Regions from separate parts of the Homo sapiens genome. Here all the other regions are linked to region 1. The links are contacts of gene promoters, found by promoter capture Hi-C in human tissues and cell types (Jung and others, 2019). All regions are on one chromosome and are shown on one strand. Each heading gives the region's core, a stretch centred on a gene start or on the middle of the fragment in contact. The rest is flanking DNA. Distances are from core to core; before and after follow the strand shown. Region 1 holds the start of GRIK1 (glutamate ionotropic receptor kainate type subunit 1). Region 2 overlaps GRIK1 (glutamate ionotropic receptor kainate type subunit 1). Region 3 has its middle 38 kb from the start of GRIK1.

Evidence for each region. The method cuts DNA at HindIII sites, captures the fragments that hold promoters and counts their contacts. A contact is called where the count stands out against the background at its distance.
Region 2: a fragment that was not itself captured here is called in contact with the fragment with the promoter of GRIK1 in region 1 in 2 of the 25 tissues and cell types used here (mesendoderm cells and thymus).
Region 3: a fragment that was not itself captured here is called in contact with the fragment with the promoter of GRIK1 in region 1 in 2 of the 25 tissues and cell types used here (adrenal gland and dorsolateral prefrontal cortex).

Annotation. Positions count from the first base shown.
Region 1 is chr21:29,937,957-29,941,508 of GRCh38, forward strand. It overlaps GRIK1 (glutamate ionotropic receptor kainate type subunit 1), which reads right to left and starts at 2,040. Exons shown (of 18, transcript NM_001330994.2): 1 at 1,427-2,040. The coding sequence starts at 1,544. RefSeq lists an enhancer at 1,326-1,827. The HindIII fragment of the contact is 7,699 bases long and covers 1-3,534 here.
Region 2 is chr21:29,882,091-29,885,642 of GRCh38, forward strand. The region is part of intron 1 of GRIK1 (glutamate ionotropic receptor kainate type subunit 1); the gene reads right to left. Among named protein-coding and RNA genes, the nearest start is that of GRIK1, 56 kb to the right of the region's middle. The HindIII fragment of the contact is 6,023 bases long and covers 1-3,552 here.
Region 3 is chr21:29,975,978-29,979,529 of GRCh38, forward strand. No RefSeq gene overlaps it. Among named protein-coding and RNA genes, the nearest start is that of GRIK1, 38 kb to the left of the region's middle. The HindIII fragment of the contact is 3,709 bases long and covers 1-3,490 here.

The sequences.
Region 1 (3,552 bases), core at 790-3,289:
CTATCCAATACAATGCACATTAAAATTACCCATAGTCTAGAAAAAACATGTGTGTAGTAAAAGTTAGTATTTGATATCTGCAGCTCAAAGTAGCACATTTCTATTTTTCTTTTAGTGGGCATGTTCAGTGATTAAAAAATAAAACCTAGTATGTTCTGAATTTTTGTAAAGGGGCTGACTAATTGTAGGTCAGAGCTAGTATAGTAACTGAGCAATTTCAACTGCTCAGGAAGCGTCACTATGCCAGTGTCTGGCACTGCTCCTGGCATATTCTGTTAGTTCCTGGAAAGGGGGAGTTAGAAGTCCTCAGAGATCAGGGCTTCACTCTTGCGGTTGAAAGTGGAAGATGGGAGAAACTAAGAGACCCATGTGATGTCACAGCTTCTCCTGTGGCTCCCTCTGTGACCGTGACTCTAAGAAGCCCGATGGGTTGGGAAAGGAGGAGGGCAAATGAGATTCAGCGAACAATAACTGGGTTTAGTTTAAAAGGCGAAGAGCTGTGTCAACCCTCAAAGTTCAGAAATTGCCCTATGCAGCCACAGACCAAACCTTGGTGGTGGGTGCTATACACTTATGGCTGTCAGTCCACGCCCCTTCCACTGTCCTTGCGTTTTGTCATCTTTGGGCTGCCCACATTCAGCTTTCCGGTGTCTTTTTTATCTCATTCGAGATCAGAGCCCTGAATCTCCTAGGAAGCTACCTGGACTGGGAACTGGATCTTGCTCAGTGGCAGGCAAGCGGGCAAATTAGGGAGCAAGTGGGAAACTTAAGTGTCTGCTGATGTTGCTAACTGACCGTCCTTCTCACTCTTCGAATCTTCAGCTCGAAGTCAGATCTGAACTCTGCCCCAATCTAGTGGAACCCGTCAGAGTTGGCAGACTCCATGTGGAAGAATCCAACTTAGGCATAAAAACTTGGAGGCTCTGGGGTAACAGGCTCTAGGATATTCCCACATCCCTAGTGGTCCCTGTATTGTATTCTTGAGATTCGTGCATACTTGCCAGTGCCCAGAGCCCAGGTTGCCAGGCACCGGGACTGCGGATCTGGACTGCCAGACGCCCACCCAGGAGGCTGGGAGAGCTCATTTCTGCGCCCAACTCAAGTGGCTGCAGCGGCTCGCGATCCCTTGCCCAGAGTAGGGGTGCCGGTCCCTGCGAACCTGGATCCCCGCACTCTAGCCCGCGTTCCTGGAGCCCAGATTGAAAAACCCGCCAACTGTACCTCCCGGGGAAGGCCGGCACCCTCCAGGAGGGAAGCAGTGACGCGGCTCCCCCTTTTTTGTGTAGCCTCCCATGAGCACTGACCTCCACCTTCCCCAGCTCCGGCTCCTGCGCCGCCGCGCGCTGCCTCGCCCGGGACCCGCTACACCCGCGTTGGTGCGGCGACCGACCACGTCTCCCGAGCAGGCAGCCTGGGGCTCACTCACCGATCCTGAGTACTTGCGGGGCGGTCTGAGGGAGGATATAGCAGAGGAAATAGAGGAGTGCCCAGCTGGTGTCCCTGGTCCAGAGCCCGGGCTGGGCGAGGAGTGTGCCGTGCTCCATCTTCCTAGCTTCTTAATTCATGCCGAGATACAGCCGCTGCCGGACGCCCGAGAGATGCACCCAACTTGGGCCGGGTCCCCGCCTCATCCTCTCTGGATGCTCCGGTTCCAAGCACGCTGCGCGCTCCCCACGGAGCGAGCTCGAGGGAACCCGCGTGGGACCGCGGAGCTGGCTGGCAAGGCTGAGCTCTCTCGGGGCTCCTCAGTGCTGTCGCTAGCCCATCACGGCTCCTCCTCCTCCTCTTCCATGGGCCGCAGACCGCGGAGGATCAGCGCTCTCTGGCTCCCGGAGCCCAGAGACCAGCTGAGGAAAGTTGCTGCCCCGATCTGCAGGAACGTCTCCCTCATTCGTCCTTTGGTCAGATGCAAAAGTCGGGGGATAGGCACAGACAGAGGAGGGAAAAGGGGGAAAGAAGACTAACGAAGAAGGAGAGAGGGTACAGGGTGAGTTGGTGCAGGGGCTCTGAGCAAGCCTGATGAGCTCCAGCAGGTTAACTGGGAGCGGAGCCACGTTCCGGCTTCTCTGAATCTTTGCTTTCCTCCTCCCCTCGCTGGCCCCACCCTTTATTTACTGCCCGCCCCAACCCCACTGATCAAGATACTCGCGCGCGCGCGCGCACACACACACACAGACACACAGACACACACACAGACACACACACACACACACACGCTCTTTTTTCTCTCCCTCAACTTTGCGCTCTGCTGCTGGGAAGTCGATCGAGTGTTGCATTCTCAAGACAGATCAAATCTAAACTATTGGTCCGAGCAGAGAAAGCCTCTGCTGTCCGCTGTGAGTGGCAAGGAAGCCTTCTTGGTAATGTCCGTGTGCACCTGTTAGGGGGTCTTATAGACAGCCAGCTATGACTCGTCCCATCATTTAATGGAAAATCACCTCCAATATTTTGGAAAATACCGGGGCTCCTGTTTTGACTCTGACGAGGATGATGAACAGGGGAAGGGGGAGAGGAATGAGAAAGCTTCAGTACTCCAAGATTATAGTGGCTTCATTCCTATTTGGACCCAAGATAATCTCTTGCAAATTGCTTCCATTTACACATGCCACTGAGATAGAAGCAGCCTCCAGCGCCGCTACTTTTCTTCATTTCTTTTAACTGTCAGGTCTGAATACTGAAAGATAGGCTATTTTAGCAATGTAGGTTTGGAGACTGTTTCTCTGTAGAAGGACAAGGACACTTCCCTAGGGAAATCAGCATTTGATTATGTTGGATTAATTTCCTTCGAGTTTTGTGGGGAATGTTCTATATATATGTTTGCTAGGTCTATATTAACATCTCTTTTTTTTAACTGGTAAATAGATTTTGAAGAACTGACCAAATCCATATGAAAAGTATGTCCACAGTTGTTATATGAGCCTAGAGTGGGAAACAATTGCAAAAGGAATCTAATATATCTTAAAGTCCATTCGTGTATTAATTAATTAATTCATTCATTATTCAACAAATACCTACTGAGTATTTTGTTTGTGGTGTCAGACACTATACTTTTCACTAAAAACCCTATGGTGGGGAAAATGCATGTTCATTCTCCAAGGGAGGTTAGAACTCCACTGTGGAAAGCTAGTCAGTTCATATCTCAAGTAGTAGGCTTGGTTCTGGACACTTTGGGATGAGAGTTAACAAAGCAGAACATGTCTGCAGATAAGAAGAGGGACTGATAGGGATTTAGGAATGCATTTTTGCGTGGAAAGATTGAGGAAACCAAGAGGAATTAGGAGCACATGCTGGTTATCTTCAGACATTTGAAGAATTCTTGTGTTAAAAGAAAGTAGCCTTATTCAGTGTTAGATATGTGAGAAGAGCTAAGAAAAATAAGATTGTCAGAGGGAAATTGTAGAAGAGTAAATTTTGTCTCATTCGGGGAGCATTTTTAAGACCAGAGAATATCAAACAGCGGCAAGGCTGGGTGTGCTGGCTTACATTGGAGCACTTTGGTGATGTTGAGGAGGGAAGATGACCTAAAACCAGGAGTTCGAGGCCAGCCTTGGA
Region 2 (3,552 bases), core at 547-3,046, 56 kb before region 1:
AAACAAACAAACAACAGTAACAATAAATAATGACATCAAAAAAAGGCCATAACAGGCATTTGTTGTCCGTTTAGGAAGAGATGGGACTTTTGGGTGGTTTTACTGTTTGGAAAATGAGTTTTGTGGTTTCATTTCTATCCTCCACATTCCATTAATTCCATGGTTCCCTGATGACTACCATATTATTCCTAGGTACCCCTTTTTTGACTTTTAAAAGAGTTTGGCCCATACTTAATGTATTTTTAAACGTTTTAACATTTACTAATATAGAACCTTCTATTGCCTATTTCCTTCTGGTTTATTCCCTTTCCTTCTGTCATTGAAGAAATGGTTCTAGTGGTAGAAATACTCCACGATTGAGAAGAATGTGGGAAGAAAGGAGGGCTGGTGGGTAAGAATTGCTCATGATGTCTCCCTCTGAATTCTGTGCTCTCACAATGACACTCCAATGTGTGGTTTGACGCCTGGAAGAAGCAGCTCATGATGGGGAAGAATCCAAAGCAATGTAGTTGGAATATCATGCGCAAAGAACTTACAAAGGGAAAAAGCTTATCAAATTCACAGAACCGAAATGAGGGTCCTTGGGAACAGAGAATTATCTCACATGCATATTCCCTGGCCTAGGTAAATAAGTGCTAGGCAAAAGTGCATGAGTAATTGAATGAGCCTGGAAAGTTTGTTTCTATTTCTCCACACATGAAATTCTTGTTTATCCTTTAAGTCTTAACTGAACATTGGCCTCCTCCATGAAGCATTCTCTATCTACCACGATCTATACAGAGCTCTCTTTTCCTTATTTATTTTTATACTAATAACCAGGGGCTGCAACTTGCTTTACTTTCTTGATGTCTAATTACTTTTTCTTTCCAACCAGCCCCCAAGGTCCTTGAAACCAGAAGTCCAGCTTTAACCTTAGTCATTACCTCCTTCAGGCTTTAACATAGTTCTGTGTTCATGGAATCGTGGCTTGTCTGTTGCTAATACCTGAGGGACTCAATCCAATACTAATTCAACAATGTCATGCTCATCTGGAAGCAGTATTTAATATATTTGGAAGGTAACTTAACCCATTTAGTGGTTTTCAGATATCGGGAAGTAGGAAAATGTATTTGTATATTCTACAAAATATTTCTAGTTATCTAACTTTCAGCAACCATTTAAATTTACTTTATAAACTCTTGTGGTTCTATGAAACAGTATTAGAACTGATAATAAGTGCAATAGAGGCTGGTGAGTCAAATAAAAATAATGGCTTCACATTTGACCTTTAGCAAGTAAAGAATTCTCAAGTATATAGATTTGCAATGGTTTTACTTCATTAAGTCACTCAGCGAGACTGACTATTGGTTGTTTCAGGAAAGAAAGTCATAACTAACAAGCAGAGAGTTCTTAATATCAGCCTCTGAGGTCCCCTGTTTGCCACAAAGCAAGTGGTGCACATTTTCCTTCCAAATAGAAAAAATAAAAATGAAATATAAAAGCTTATTAGACCTTCCAAATCAGGATCTTCTGTAGACACACTCAAGACACCCAGGAAGGCATCAGTGTTATCAGGTATCAGGTTATAAAGAAATCAGACTATAATCCTGTGACATTCTGAATGGGAATGGAAAGACTGGTTTACAATGATAGTTTAAAATTTAAAAATATTTATGTGTTTTTTCTCAAAGTCCACTTTCTTTTTTTTCTCATTGCAAGAAAATTAGAACAGACACATTTCAAAATCTCCCAGCACAGAATAGCTATATTCTGCAGTGAATACCAGTGAAACCACAGAATAATTAGAAAGAAAATACCTAAGAGAAAACCAATCAAAGAAAACCCGACAGGCTTCAACAGGTTTCCTTCAGGCCTGAGATATTGAAGTCCTTTTCCACTCTGACTCTTCCTAAAAAGAAGGGGGGGATGCTTTATGTAATCTATTGATAAGAAAGGAGGTAGACAGAAATCTTGACTCCCATGTGCTGCTCCATTTTATACAGGGAAACACATTGTCTACTGTTAAATAATTTTTCTTTGTAGTATGGTTCTGTTACCTGCCCATATCACTGTTCGATAAGCTGCTATGAGCAAACATATTATATTTAATGGAAGTTGAAAGAACAGGCAGAGGGTTAAGTTTTCCAACATGTATGGTTCACAAAGCCAGATGCCAAGATATGGTCTAATCTTCTAAATATATACATTTGTCCATTATAAATCCTTTTTCCAGAGTAATTTTTAAAACAAATCTCATTTTACTATCCTATCGTAAAATGTTTTTGAATTAACCAGAGTCTACTTACCATTTCTCTAAGTATGGTCAAGAGGAAGAACAGGTTGGTTGTATTTTTTTCCATATGAGGACTTTCGTCCCTCTACTCCCACCCCCGACTCTTTGTATTATGGACAGGGAAACAGAAAGGAAATTACTAAGTCAGGGAGAGAGTTACTTGATGGCCATGTTCATCTCTCAGTTTGCCATTTGATGACGTAAAACATAAGAAAACATGAAAGTGGGTGCCAATGTTTCTAACCTAACAGATAAAGTTTGTGGATTTCTGAGCTACATTGCATTACTAGTAATAACTGAAAACATAGATTATCAGCTATTGTGCTACATGCTTTACTTAAAGTAGTTATTATCTCCACCTTCAAGACGAGACAACGGAGATTTAGAAATTAAGTAACTTGACTAGTTAAAACTGACACTAAACCTCTTAATTTTAATCTCTCACTATAGCTACATGCATAAAGTTATGATTACTTAATTGCTGGAAGGGAATCTTCAACAGACATCCAGTGTTCACCCACAGAGCTATCCAGAAAAAGTTCCCAAATCACACAGATACTGGTTCACTTGGTGACGATGTTGCTCAAAACTGTTCCATAAAAGATTCTAATCCCAAATGAAACATTTCAATATTATTTTCATTATTGGAAAAATCTCCATATTTTAGGTCTCCTTGAGTAAATGAGAATGAGCTGCATTTTAAAAACTACTTTTTAATGGACACATTGTAATTATGCATATTTATTGAGCAAAAATGTGATAATGTGATGTTTCAATACATACATATATTGTATAATGATCAAATCAGGGTATTTATTGTGTTGACCGTGGATTTGCTTTCATGAATGTTCATATGTATGTCAGAGTTTCATGTCAGGGCAATGGACGTTGTATGGTTAAATAGTCTTCAACTTCTTCTTCTAAGCCTTTGCTAGATGGTTTTTAACTAAATATAGGCATATTAAAAGTTCTCTTCTCATACCACAACCCTGACCTAGCTGTAGTTGGTTTACAGTGGGACTCAGATGGATGGAATTATTTTTTCTTAACGTAAGAAAAATAAATTCCTTCCTAGAGATCTGCAAAAAAATCTTGTGATATAGAATTGGTGGGAGTGAAGGAATAGAATTTAGCCCTTGATTAAATACAGCACCTATTTGCCATTTAGAATTTTAGTGAAAGATATTGTCTTAGAAAACTTGCTTCAAAGGAAACATTAATGAAAAGGTAGAATGAGTGACAAATACTGCCAAAATTTCTATCATAGCATCAATGATTAC
Region 3 (3,552 bases), core at 386-2,885, 38 kb after region 1:
CTAGTAAGCCACTTCTCTCTAGCTCAGTCGCAAAGTCTCTCACACTGAAGAATAACACACCACTGAAACTTCTCGCTGAGCTCCAGCAGCAGCCAATAAAAGTGTTCCTTTGCTCTTTGGTACAACTGAAGACATTTACATGGACATTTTTTCTTATTCTACCACTCCTTACTCTATTCCTATGTTTATCTCACAGCTGATACTTTTGGGGCTTTTCATTTATCATTTTCTAGTTGACTCCTAAGATAAACAAAGAGCTTACAACAATTCCTAGTACATTATAGGCATTCATTAAATGTTTGCTATGCTGCTGTTGCTGCTAATGATGGTCTTGCAAAATTTTTCATTTCAGAAGGTACCTAGTGTCACTTACTCAGCAACATATGGATTGCATCTTTAGGAATTATCCTTTCTGTTGCATTAGAAGAATCCTTACCAGTTAGAAGCCCCTGTTACCCATACATTATAATGTTATGGTTAAGAGATAAGTATAAACTATATTTAGGAGACATCTTTCCTAGTTATTAATGGTTTGAACTTGGACAAGTTGCTTAAACATTTTGCCTCAGTTTTCTCATTTTTAAGCATTTGACAATAACATATATTTTGTGGAGTTTTTCTGAAGATAAATCAAAATAATACAGGTAAAGTGTCCCTATATACATCTGAGTATCCAGAGACGAGGGATGGGTCATGCTTTACTCCTCATTGTGTCTCCGGTGACAAACATAAAAACAAAAGTCATTTATCCATCTAATGCACAACTCTTTTTGGAAGGTACAATGAGCAAAATGTTCTCTAAGTTTCCTTTTAGTCCTCTATTATACATTTTATTGCAAGTTGTGGAAATAAATTATTCACATTGGATTTACGACGACACATCTTTCAATTATTAGTTATTAAGACATGGTGGTAAAGAATAGCAGCTAATAAATATACAAGATATGATCTATTTTTAAAATCATTATTTTGCAATCCAAAATATTTGGCACATTCAAGAATCATCTATAAATGCTACCCATTTGGCAGAAGCTTTTTAGGGAGTAGAATAACATATGGCCACAAAACATTACTATAGAGATAATTTATCAATTACAAAGGGGTAAATACACTTTTTCTATGGAGAGACCCAGTGGTCACCACTTTAGTGAACGAAATTAGCATTATCAATAATAAGACAACATGACATTATGGGCCTTCCTATGTGACACAATAAGAAATACTGTTATGAAAGATCCTGGCACAAATGTTAAATCTGAAATTGATCGCAAGGTATACATAAGAAAAATCCTAAACAATGACTGGCTTAACCTTCAAGATAACAGAATCATAAGCAGCCACAAAAAAGGTAAAACAATATTTTAGATTAAAAGCAACTAAAGTAGCATAACCACTAAAGGCAATGCATGAGCACTGGTTAATAGATATAAAAAAATTGGGATGGACAATTAGGAATATTTAAATTGTCAACATTTTCATTTCAATTCTAAAAATAATTAATTTGACTACATTTCAAAACAAATATATATTTCAAATATTCTAACATATGACAATGATATTTTGCTTCTGTAGGGAATGATATATTTTGATAAGGAAGTATTCATATTCGTATGTATATATACACACACACACAAACCCACATATATGTAAAGAGAGAGAGACACAGAGAGAGATAAAGAGAAAAATAAAGCAAATGTGACAAACTGTTAATAGTTGGAGAGTCTTGGTGAATTGTAAATGGGTGTTCGTGGTAATATTTCAACTTAATAAAATGGGAGGAAAACTTAATACATTGGGAAGAAAAATACATGGAAGTGAATTGTCTAATTCAAAACACATAACTTAGTAATGGGTTCTCTGGACAACTTTTACAAAAAGGATTCTAGAATAATCCAGTTTGTTAACTTGATTTTCTGTCACATAGTTTTCCTTCTGAACCGGAGGCTCAGTCCCTCACACCCCTGCTGGCATACATGCTTTTAGCCTTCATCCTATGTTGAGTTAGTATGCATAGTGTATACTCAAAAAATGCTAAGTTAATTGATTTTAAAATTAGCTCTTTAAGCACTCAAAACAATTTCAAAGGACACTCTGCTGAAAAACAATTATCTAATGTACTTTATACTTAAATATTCATTCATTTTTGTATTCTACAATGTTGATATTGTCCAAATCTCTGCCAATCACTAGGAGAATATCAAGCTAAAAATTTACTAAATGATTTTTAAAAAGTATATTGCTTATTTGTCTCTTGAGTAGCATGTCAAAAGGGGACTTAAATTAACTCAGGGTATTTCATTAATCACTAGAGAAAAATGCCTAGGACTCATTTTATTGTCAACATTTTGATGATACAGAATTCTAGAAAATTCATCATCTTATTTATGTTTCAAAACTTATACGACATATTTAAAATATTAACATACTACAATGGTATTTTGCTCCTGTAGGAAACAATATATTTCAATACGGAAGTATTCACATTCATATATATATATATATATACACGTACACATATAAACACGCATATATGTAAAGAGAGACACAGACAGAGGGAAGTGGACTCCTCAAACACAATGCTTTAATATTTATCCTTAAGACTAGCATTGTTTTTGACATGACCCTATGATTAATCAAATGCTCGATAGAAGTAGACCACGTTGCTTTGAGTTTCATTAGCCTCACATCGATGTGTCCTAATAGGGAATAGTCAAGATGGTGTGTTGGCCTCTTTGTAGGGTGCATCCAATTTTAACATAACTTCCTGGTCTCCTATGTCAGATTATACCCAGGAAGGCCCAAGGAGGATCTGCCATCTTCAGTCCCCATTTTAATTAGTTCTTCAAAGGCCAGAGAATGTCTCACAGGCACATCTTGAGAAGATCATCAAGGGAATTTGTGACATTGTAATAACTATGCTTCAAAATACCACTGGAAAAAAATGATTCATGAAAGCCAAATATTAGCTAAGCTTTGCATATGATTTTAACTTTCTTTGCTTTTAATACAAGTAACAGAGCACTAGAGTGACTATCCTTACAGGGACAGGAAGGCCCTTGACTCACAAAAAGAACTTGTTCCAAGGCATACAGCTAATTATTTTTATTAAAATTACCAAAGGAGGATGCAAAGTAGCTTCAGTTTCTTCTTCAAGAAGGTATAACTTGCTTACTTGATAAGAATTGGAGATGAGTGGAAACTTATACTTTGTCAGCTAAAATTAATTCACACTGCAAGGGGAAAGTATTTGAATGGTATCCGGAATTGCTTTAAACAAATACACAAAGACTGAAGTACTTATGAGGAATTTTGTGAGGGAGCAGTTGGCAATTCTATACTGATTCTCTCCTACACTATTTTTTTTTTAGCTCTCCTGAAATTTCATGTATTTAGTTTGCTTTGGCAAGATTGTGTGGCTGAAGTAATATTAGTTTTCTTCCTATGTATCTTGCTGGGGAGGGGAAGAAGAAGAAAGGAGATGTGAGAAGAGGAAGACTTAGGATTATTATACTGCAATCCTACATAATAAAAATAGTTTAATCAAATGAATAA